Linked DNA regions of Homo sapiens: regions 1 and 2 are each linked to region 3. The links are contacts of gene promoters, found by promoter capture Hi-C in human tissues and cell types (Jung and others, 2019). All regions are on one chromosome and are shown on one strand. The core of a region is centred on a gene start or on the middle of the fragment in contact, and the rest is flanking DNA. Distances in the headings are between cores, read along the strand shown. Region 1 has its middle 23 kb from the start of TNFSF4. Region 2 overlaps LOC100506023 (a long non-coding RNA gene). Region 3 holds the start of DARS2 (aspartyl-tRNA synthetase 2, mitochondrial).

Region 1 (3,199 bases), core at 522-3,021, 590 kb after region 3:
AAAATGGCCATACTGCCCAGGGTAATTTATAGATTCAATGCCATCCCCATCAAGCTACCAATGACTTTCTTCACAGAATTGGAAAAAACTACTTTAAAGTTCATATGGAACCAAAAAAGAGCCCACATCGCCCAGTCAATCCTAAGCCAAAAGAACAAAGCTGGAGGCATCACACTATAAAGTACTTTATTTTATTCTCTTTGAAGCAATTGTGAATGGGAGTTCACTCATGATTTGGCTCTCTGATTGTCTGTTATTGGTGTATAAGAATGCTTGTGATTTTTGTACATTGATATTGTGTCCTGAGACTTTGCTGAATTTGCTTATCAGCCTAAGTAGATTTTGGGCTGAGATGATGGGGTTTTCTAAATATACAATCATGTCATCGGCAAAGAGGGACAATTTGACTTCCTCTTTTCCTAATAAATATTCCAAATAAATAAAATTCCTTTTATTTATTTGTCCTGCCTTATTGCCCAAGCCAGGACTTCCAACACTACGTTGAATAGGAGTGGTGAGAGAGGGCATCCCTGTCTTGTGCCACTTTTCAAAGGAAATGCTTCCAGTTTTTGCCCATTCAGTATGATATTGACTGTGGGTTTGTCATAAATAGCTATTATTATTTTGAGATACATTCCATCAATACCTAATTTATTGAGAGTTTTTAGCATGAAGGGCTATTGAATTTTGTCAAAGGCCTTTTCTGCATCTATTGAGATAATCATGTGGTTTTTGCCTTTGGTTCTGTTTATATGCTGGAATATGTTTATTGATTTGTGTATGTTGAACCAGCCTTGCATCCCAGGGGTGAAGCCCACTTGATCATGGTGGATAAGCTCTTTGATATGCTGCTGGATTCGGTTTGCCAGTAATTTACTGAGGATTTCTGCATCGATGTTCATCAGGGATATTGGTCTAAAATTCTCTTTTTTTGTTGTGTCTCTGCCAAGCTTTGGTATCAGGATGATGCTGGCCTCATAAAGTGAGTTAGGGAGGATTCCCTCTTTTTCTATTGACTGGAATAGTTTTAGAAGGAATGGTACCAGCTCATCCTTGTACCTCTGGTAGAATTCAGCTGTGAATCCATCTGGTGCTGGGCTTTTTTTGGTTGGTAGGCTATTGATTATTGCCTCAATTTCAGAGCCTGTTATAGGTCCATTCAGGGATTCAACTTCTTCCTGGTTTAGTCTTTGGAGGGTGTATGTGTCCAGGAATTTATCCATTTCTTCTAGATTTTCTAGTTTATTTGCGTAGAGGTGTCTAGTATTTAGGTATTTTATAGTATTCTCTGAAGGTAGTTTGTATTTCTGTGGGATTGGTGGTGATGTCCCCTTTATCATTTTTTATTGTGTCTATTTGATTCTTCTCTCTTTTCTTCTTTATTAGTCTTGCTAGTGGTCTGTCAATTTTGTTGATCTTTTCAAAAAACCAGCTCCTAGATTCATTGATTTTTTTGAAGGGTGTTGTGTCTCTATCTCCTTCAATGCTGCTCTGATCTTAGTTATTTCTTGTCTTCTGCTAGCTTTTGAATGTGTTTGCTCTTGCTTCTCTAGTTCTTTTAATTGTGATGTTAGGGTGTCAATTTTAGATCTTTCCTGCTTTCTCTTGTGAGCATTTAGTGCTATAAATTTCCCTCTACACACTGCTTTGAATGTGTCCCAGAGATTCTGGTATGTTGTGTCTTTGTTCTCATTGGTTTCAAAGAACATCTTTATTTCTGCCTTCATTTTGTTATGTACCCAGTAGTCATTCAGGAGCAGGTTGTTCAGTTTACATGTAGTTGAGCTGTTTTGAGTGAGTTTCTTAATCCTGAGTTCTAATTTGATTGCACTGTGGTCTGAGAGACTGTTATAATTTCTGTTCTTTTACATTTGCTGAGGAGTGCTTTACTTCCAACTACGTGGTCAATTTTGGAATAAGTGTGGTGTGGTGCTGAGAAGAATGTGCATTCTGTTGATTTGGGGTGGAGAGTTCTGTAGATGTCTATTGGGTCTTCTTGGTGCAGAGCTGATTTCAATTCGTGGATATCCTTGTCAACTTTCTGTCTTGTTGACCTGTCTAATGTTGACAGTGGGGTGTTAACGTCTCCCATTATTATTGTTTGGGAGTCTAAGTCTCTTTGTAGGTCTCTAAGGACTTGCTTTATGAATCTGGGTGGTCCTGTATTGGGTGCATATATATTTAAGATAGTTAGCTCTTCTTGTTGAATTGATCCCTTTACCATTATGCAATGGCCTTCTTTGTCTCTTTTGATCTTTGTCGGTTTAAAGTCTGTTGTATCAGAGACTAGGATTGCAACCCCTGCCTTTTTTTGTTTTCCATTTGCTTGGTAGATCTTCCTCCATCCCTTTATTTTGAACCTATGTGTGTCTCTGCATGTGAGATGGGTCTCCTGAATACAGCACACTGATGGGTCTTGACTCTTTATCCAATTTGCCAGTCTGTGTCTTTTAATTGGAGCATTTAGCCCATTTACATTTAAGGTTAATATTGTTATGTGTGGATTTGATCCTGTCACTATGATGTTAGCTGGTTATTTTGCTCATTAGTTGATGTGATTTCTTCCTAGCATCGATGGTCTTTACAATTTGGCATGTTTTTGCAGTGTCTGGTACTGGTTGTTCCTTTCCATGTTTAGTGCTTCCTTCAGGAGCTCTTTTCGGGCAGGCCTGGTTCTGACAAAATCTCTCAGCACTTGCTTGTCTGTAAAGGATTTTATTTCTCCTTCACTTATGAAGCTTAGTTTGGCTGGATATGAAATTCTGGGTTGAAAATTCCTTTCTTTAAGAATGTTGAATATTGGCCCCCACTCTCTTCTGGCTTGTATTGTTTCTGCTGAGAGATCCGCTGTTAGTCTGATGGGCTTCCCTTTGTGGGTAACTTGACCTTTCTTTGTCTTGCTGCCCTTAACATTTTTTCCTTCATTTCAACCTTGGTGAATCTGACAATTATGTGTCTTAGGGTTGCTCTTCTTGAGGAGTATCTTTGCGGTGTTCTCTGTATTTCCTGAATTTGATTGTTGGTCTGCCTTGCTAGGTGTGGGAATTTCTCCTGGATAATATTCTGCAGAGTGTTTCCCAACTTGGTTCCATTCTCCCCGTCACTTTCAGGTACACCAGTCAGACATAGATTTGGTCTCTTCACATAGTCCCATATTTCTTGGAGTCCTTGTTCATTTCTTTTTACTCTTTTTTCTCTA
Region 2 (2,958 bases), core at 413-2,912, 550 kb after region 3:
GTGCCTGATACATTGTAAGTGTCCATTATTATTAGCATTGCCTGGATTCTAATAGTGACCCAGAGATAGTGCTAATGCAGAACTGATAGCAATAAAAGACAAATCCACCTTTGTACTAGCCACCCTTGTGAGTCACACCTGGTAAAAACTATTATATATTAAGTACTTATTATGTCCCAGCTTTATGCTAAGTAACTTACATATGAGTTGACAGTGTCTATTCCTCCTTGCCACTCTTCTCCTCTCATATTTTTGTTTTTACCGTTGAAGTTCTGAGGACACCCTAGAAATAGGGCATCCCCCCAAAATTGGGGTCAATAGGTTAGAAAGGCTACACAGGTCACAGCAGAACTCTAATCTCTCAGACTCCCAAGTTTAAGACTGCACTTTCCCTCAATGCTGTATTTAGGTCTCTTTCTTTATTTTCCTGGCCAAGTCATCAGAAGCTGGTTGAACAGAACAGATCCTGAATAGTTACCTTCATGACAAATAATAACAGCTACACATTTTCCCATGGTCTTCACCCCAGACAGGTTTCTGTCTCCTCACTATGGAAGGTGGTAGGGTGAATACCATGAAACCACGTGCTGCTTTCTTTTTTACTACTGGCAGAGTTTCACCCTGGTTGAATGGGTTCAAAGAGAAGGTTTCACTCTAACTGCTGGCCTTACAGACACCTGGAACATCTGAAGCATTATTATTATGGCTGACTTGTTCTGAAGAACTCAGGCTTTTCTCATTTTTAGAAAGTGTAATTTTGTGTACTTGTATGAAGGGAAGAGAAATACTGCCCTCGGAAATGAAAATTCTATCACAGCATCACTGTTAGTTAGATATCATATGTACATTGAGCTGCAGATAATAAAGCAGCCATGTTGAGCCCGCTGTGATGGCTGAAGAGCCTGGTTCTTGGGTTGAAGAGGACAGACACAGGCAAGTTCTCCCCATCATCCTACCTGCGATTAGCCCAGTGGCCTGTTCTAATCTCCCTTTCTAAAATTCAGGCAAATGTTAATTTTCTTCTCAATAGTACTTAGTCAAATTTCTTGCAAATTTGAAATGTCAAATAGAAAACTCCCACAAAGTTGAGCTCGTAAATTAATCATGGCCACAGGAGCTAACCAGCAATGCCACTGGGCTAGACTTCAGCTCCTTTCCTGTGGCTCTAAGGCCTCCAACTCAGTGGCTCCTTTCTCTACTCATTCTCTCTGCTGCTGTTTAGGTCAGGCTCATTCACTCCCAGCTTAGTGTGCTTTTCCCTTGGACAAGATGACAGAAAGTTGACCTGCCATCATAGTGTTTGAGTCCTTCCCAATCATGGGAAACTGGGAACAACTGTGTACACTCTGAGACTGTGTGGTAGAGGTGGAGAGGAGAAGGAAGAGGATAGTTAGGAGAAGTCTGAAGCCTATAGCTTAGAGAGTGTCTTCCTCATGAAAAATTGCACTCACTGGGCAGTGGCATTACAGAAACAGGCTTAATTTGGATTAATCTTTCTGTAAATCTGTATTGAGAATTGTTTCATAAAACAATGTCACCGGTCTTCTCTGTTGTTTGTCTCTCTTTTGTGTAGGTTTAACATAATTATCTTTAGTTTTTCATTCTTAGGTATGATGTTGGTTGTCGATATTGATATTCTTTTTCATGTTAAGGAAACATCTATTACACATTTTTAAAGAGTTCATTTAACTAAAGCAATGGTTTTCATTTGATTGAATTTCTTTTTGACGGCAACCAGTTAAGATGCTTTTATTGTTTTTCTTATTTAATGTAATGGCACTCATACCAACCACACTATTGGGAAGTTTTAAAGGGCTAAATATGTTAAGCTACTAGAATAGTGTCATATAGTGTTAGCTGTTATTATGATACATGATGTGGTATGTTATCTTAATAAATTACAGATAACCCATTCTTACATTCCTGGGATTAAACCCCAAAGCCTCTGTCAACCTGGGCTGCTGACTGATGTGTGTCCCATGGTGGGGAAACTCTAAACATTGTCAACAACTTTTTTTCCCCCAGGGGTTCCATGTTTTCCTTTGGGATTATAATTGTGTGAAAGCCGGCATTAACTTCCCTCTCTCCCAGAAAACACTGGTAATAAGAGATCTGCAAGTGCTTACAAATTGAACAGAAGTGGTCTCACCTGCTGTTGGTCAGATTATTTTGAATGGCCAACAGAGTGTTGTAATCACAAAAATGTGGAAATGAGAGGTGGATTTGTTCAGAGGCAATTCACCTTGGTGTTTTTACACATCTTATGACAGCTTTAGTTCCAGACTATCTTTTCCAGGATGTTTGTATAGAGCACAGAGGCTTGGGAGCTAGAGATGGTATCTCTCTCCAGGTCAGACAGTAGATTTGTTTCTTGAAAAAGATAATATAGTTTCTCTCTGTGGAGCAAAGTTTGGGCAGGTTTGCTTGCAGCCACTTAAAAGATGGGAAGTTTCCTAAGCTCAGGGTTCCTCATCTGGGATGGGACATGGATGTGTGTGCAGGATCTGCCCAGGCCTGTTCTGTGTCGTTCCCTTCCCTGATGGGACTTAGGGACAAAGGGACATATAGAGAACACGGAGCTTGTGCTGCATGCTCTGCCATGAGTAAAAATGGTCCAAATCAGTTTGGGCTTGTTGTTTCCTTTCCAACTAAATTTTGAAAGGGCAGCAAGTCAGCTTAGCACCTATGCTGTTGCTTAGAGATTGCTTAAGCCCTTGACAAGAGTTACACAAATGACGCTATAGCAAAATAGTCAAAGCAAAGTACTGCATGTGAACAGGCAATTAACTCAGGGGAAATCTAACTAAAAACATATGGAAAGTTTCTTGATTTTAGTGAGACATGCAAAATAAAGATACTCTTTATTAAACATGTATCAAAAATAAGGTACTCTTTTTTACTTATCAAATTGACTGAATTTAAAAACATATTTAACATTTGGTGCTGGTGAGAAAATGA
Region 3 (3,003 bases), core at 186-2,685:
GGACTACAGGCGCCCGCCACCACGCCCGGCTAATTTTTTTTTTATTTTTAGTAGAGACGGGGTTTCACCGTGTTAGCCAGGATGGTCTCGATCTCCTGACCTCGTGATCCGCCCTCCTCGACCTCCCAAAGTGCTGGGATTAACGACGTGAGCCACCGCGCCCGGCCGAAGAAGGATTTTTTTAAGGCATCAACCAAAAGCAGAGTATTCTATATATTACGTGGTTACCTTTTTGTGGTCTTTCTAAAAACTCAGGGAAAAAAAACTGCCGTATAATGAATATAATGAGAGTGAATTTCGCTTCTACACATAAGGCTATCCAGTTAAGAACAGGGGAAAAGCCGGGCGCGGTGGCTCACGCCTGTAATCCCAGCACTATGGGAGGCGGAGGCGGGTGGATCACGAGGTCAGGAGATCGAGACCATCCTGGCTAACACAGTGAAACCCCGGCTCTACCAAAAATACAGAAAAATTAGCCGGGCGTGGTCGCGGGCGCCTGTAGTCCCAGCTACTCGGGAGGCTGAGGCAGGAGAATGGCGTGAACCCGGGAGGCGGAGCTTGCAGTGAGCGGAGATCGCGCCACTTCACTCTAGCCTGGGCAGCAGAGCGAGACTCCGTCTCAAATAATAATAATAATAATAATAATAATAATAATAATGGGGGAAAAAATGAAAAATGGAATAAAAGCTCTCCGGCCGTAGATAACAGGCTGAAGTACTGTTCATAGGATAGATCTCTTCGCTATTTTCACCTGGAATTCTCCTCTGTGAACTCTGCAACAGACTTCTGTAGAGAGAACCCCAGATCGGTTGGGTGGTCCTTCTGATGGGTCTGGATAAACCCCTGTACAGCTGACTTAACCAAGAAGGGAAGTACATGTTGGAGCCACACGATGGCGAAAAACAATCACGAAATCCCACGCTGCCGGTAGTTAAAAGTCAGTTTTGGAAATACACAGAAATCCCTTAAAATTCCAGGAGTTCCCACTCTCTTCTCGAATATTTAAGGCCTCCTCCGCACAACATTGGAGTACACGTGTCTAGAAACAAGACAAATCTCCAAGGTCTCTGGGGTGCTTGCTGGGGTGGAGATAAGGGAAAGACCTCTCCCTGAGTCTTAAAGCATCAGTCTGCACTTCTACTCAACAAGTCGGCAGCCAAAAGTGACGACGAGAGAGCGACTCCACGTAGCGGCGCCAGGCGCGAGCCCAAGACAACCAGAGGCGGTCACAAGGTATACGCCCTTCTCCTCTTTCCACGCTTCTCGAGAGGCTCCCGCGGCCAGAACCGGAAAACAAGGAGTAACAGTCGCGTTTCAAATCTCGCAGACCTGCTGGCCGATTTCGAGTCTTCTGAAAGAGGAAGGCGAGCAAAGCCAAAATTCTCCCAGAGCGCGAACCCAAACACAGATCGCCGCTGGGGTCCAAGCGCCCTTCAACTCCGCCCGCTAGTGCCCAAGATTACCGGGAAGGAATTCAACGAATCAGTGGTGAGGTGCCGCCGCCATGCCTACTACGGGCGGAAATTTGAGAGAAAGCTTCGCACCGGTAGGAAAACTGAGGAGCAACCGAGCACGATTGGAAAGGTTGACGATAGTGGTTAAGTGGCTCGGCCTTGCCCTCAGTTAAAATGGCAATTTTAGTTGCTTCACTGATACGGAATCGGCGAGGCGCCAAGGAGGCTTCCTGCGTGGGGCCGCAGAGCGAGTCGGGAAACGATTTTAAACTGAAGAGGCGGCGGAGGGCCGAATTCCCTTTTCTCAACGGCTTGATTTCAGAGCTGGGCTGGTCTCTGACAGGCTCAGCTGGAGAGGGACGGGTTGGGACGCACTGTCCTTTTGCCCTTCCCCCTCCGCGAGCAGAAGCTGACTCCGCAGGAGCGAGGGTCGCAGAGCTGGGTGAGCGGAAATGTCCCTCCCAGAGTGAAGTCGCAGGGCCCGCCCCGCGTCTGAGGGAGCGGAGGTCTTCCTGGGTGCGTTTGTGTCTCTTGTGAACCCACTTGTGGAGCGAGAGGGAATTTGGGAGGGCCAGGGGTTAGTCTGGCCTCTGTCTTAGCTGTCATTTTGGCGGTTTTTTTTTTTTTTCTTCAGGGGATTTCAGTCTCCACATAGTTTTGGAGCCGGACTTTTGAAGAATGATTCGTGAATCCGGAATGGGTGACAGCGTCATCACGGCATTTTATTGGTAAAGATGCTTTGTATTGGTCCCGGACCTGCTTTAACTTTGTATTTGCCCTGTTGTGTGGTCATTATCTTACAATACTTGCGTGTTGAGGTGTGTTTAAACACTACGTGCTTAACACTGGCTAAGTATTGGCATTGGGGCGGTTGGATTTAGGTATTGGTGGCAATGTAGAAAAGTGATCAAGTCAGAGCCCCTTCACGGACTAATCACAAGAGAAACAACAAAGCTTTACTTGTGTGCTGTGAACCACAACTGCAAGTGGAATTGTCAAGAGAACTAGCCCTGCCAAGCTCAGGAAAACTTCTGAGGAGATGGCACATGGAAAATGGATAAGATTTACTGAGACAAACGGGAGTAGAGAAGTGTTTTTAATTGGCGATAAGGTGAATAAAAAGGCAGGGAGAACAGTAGAGTGATCATCTGTCTAGAGTAGGGGGTGCATGTTTGGGTATAGGGCTGTCATTTAACCTCTTAAAGAATTGTCTACTGGAACTTTCTTCACTCCCATCCCCCCACCCCCCAATGTTGTATACAAAACCTTAGAGGAAGTGTATGCAGAATGTTGGATTTTGGAAAGGCTAATGTCGATGGATCTTGGGGAAGAACTGAAGTAGTAGAAAATGAACCTGGATAGGATCAGATAATAAGATCAAATACAGTAGTGCCTTGAAAGCCAGACAGGAATTCTGATTTGACTTCATATAGATGTGTGGGAACTGTTATGGGATCTCAAGCAAGGTAATGATAAAAGTGGTGACAATGAAAGACTGATGATGGATTAGGGAAAGGGGCTAAGATTGGGAACAAGATAAGTAGCTATA

What was found. The method cuts DNA at HindIII sites, captures the fragments that hold promoters and counts their contacts. A contact is called where the count stands out against the background at its distance.
Region 1: a contact is called between a fragment that was not itself captured here and the fragment with the promoter of DARS2 in region 3, in 1 of the 25 tissues and cell types used here (mesenchymal stem cells).
Region 2: a fragment that was not itself captured here is called in contact with the fragment with the promoter of DARS2 in region 3 in 1 of the 25 tissues and cell types used here (spleen).

Annotation. Positions count from the first base shown.
Region 1 is chr1:173,228,874-173,232,072 of GRCh38, reverse strand. It overlaps a transcript of TNFSF4 not described here. Among named protein-coding and RNA genes, the nearest start is that of TNFSF4, 23 kb to the right of the region's middle. The HindIII fragment of the contact is 3,707 bases long and covers 1-3,199 here.
Region 2 is chr1:173,274,770-173,277,727 of GRCh38, reverse strand. All of the region lies in intron 2 of LOC100506023 (a long non-coding RNA gene), which reads left to right. It also overlaps a transcript of TNFSF4 not described here. Among named protein-coding and RNA genes, the nearest start is that of TNFSF4, 69 kb to the right of the region's middle. The HindIII fragment of the contact is 6,274 bases long and covers 1-2,958 here.
Region 3 is chr1:173,823,105-173,826,107 of GRCh38, reverse strand. It overlaps DARS2 (aspartyl-tRNA synthetase 2, mitochondrial), which reads right to left and starts at 1,435. Exons shown (of 17, transcript NM_018122.5): 1 at 752-1,435. The coding sequence starts at 878. CENPL (centromere protein L) reads left to right here and starts at 1,225. Exons shown (of 6, transcript NM_001387287.1): 1 at 1,225-1,896; 2 at 2,089-2,182. RefSeq lists enhancers at 1-53, 695-1,212, 919-1,478, 1,213-1,731, 1,709-1,948. The HindIII fragment of the contact is 1,671 bases long and covers 302-1,972 here.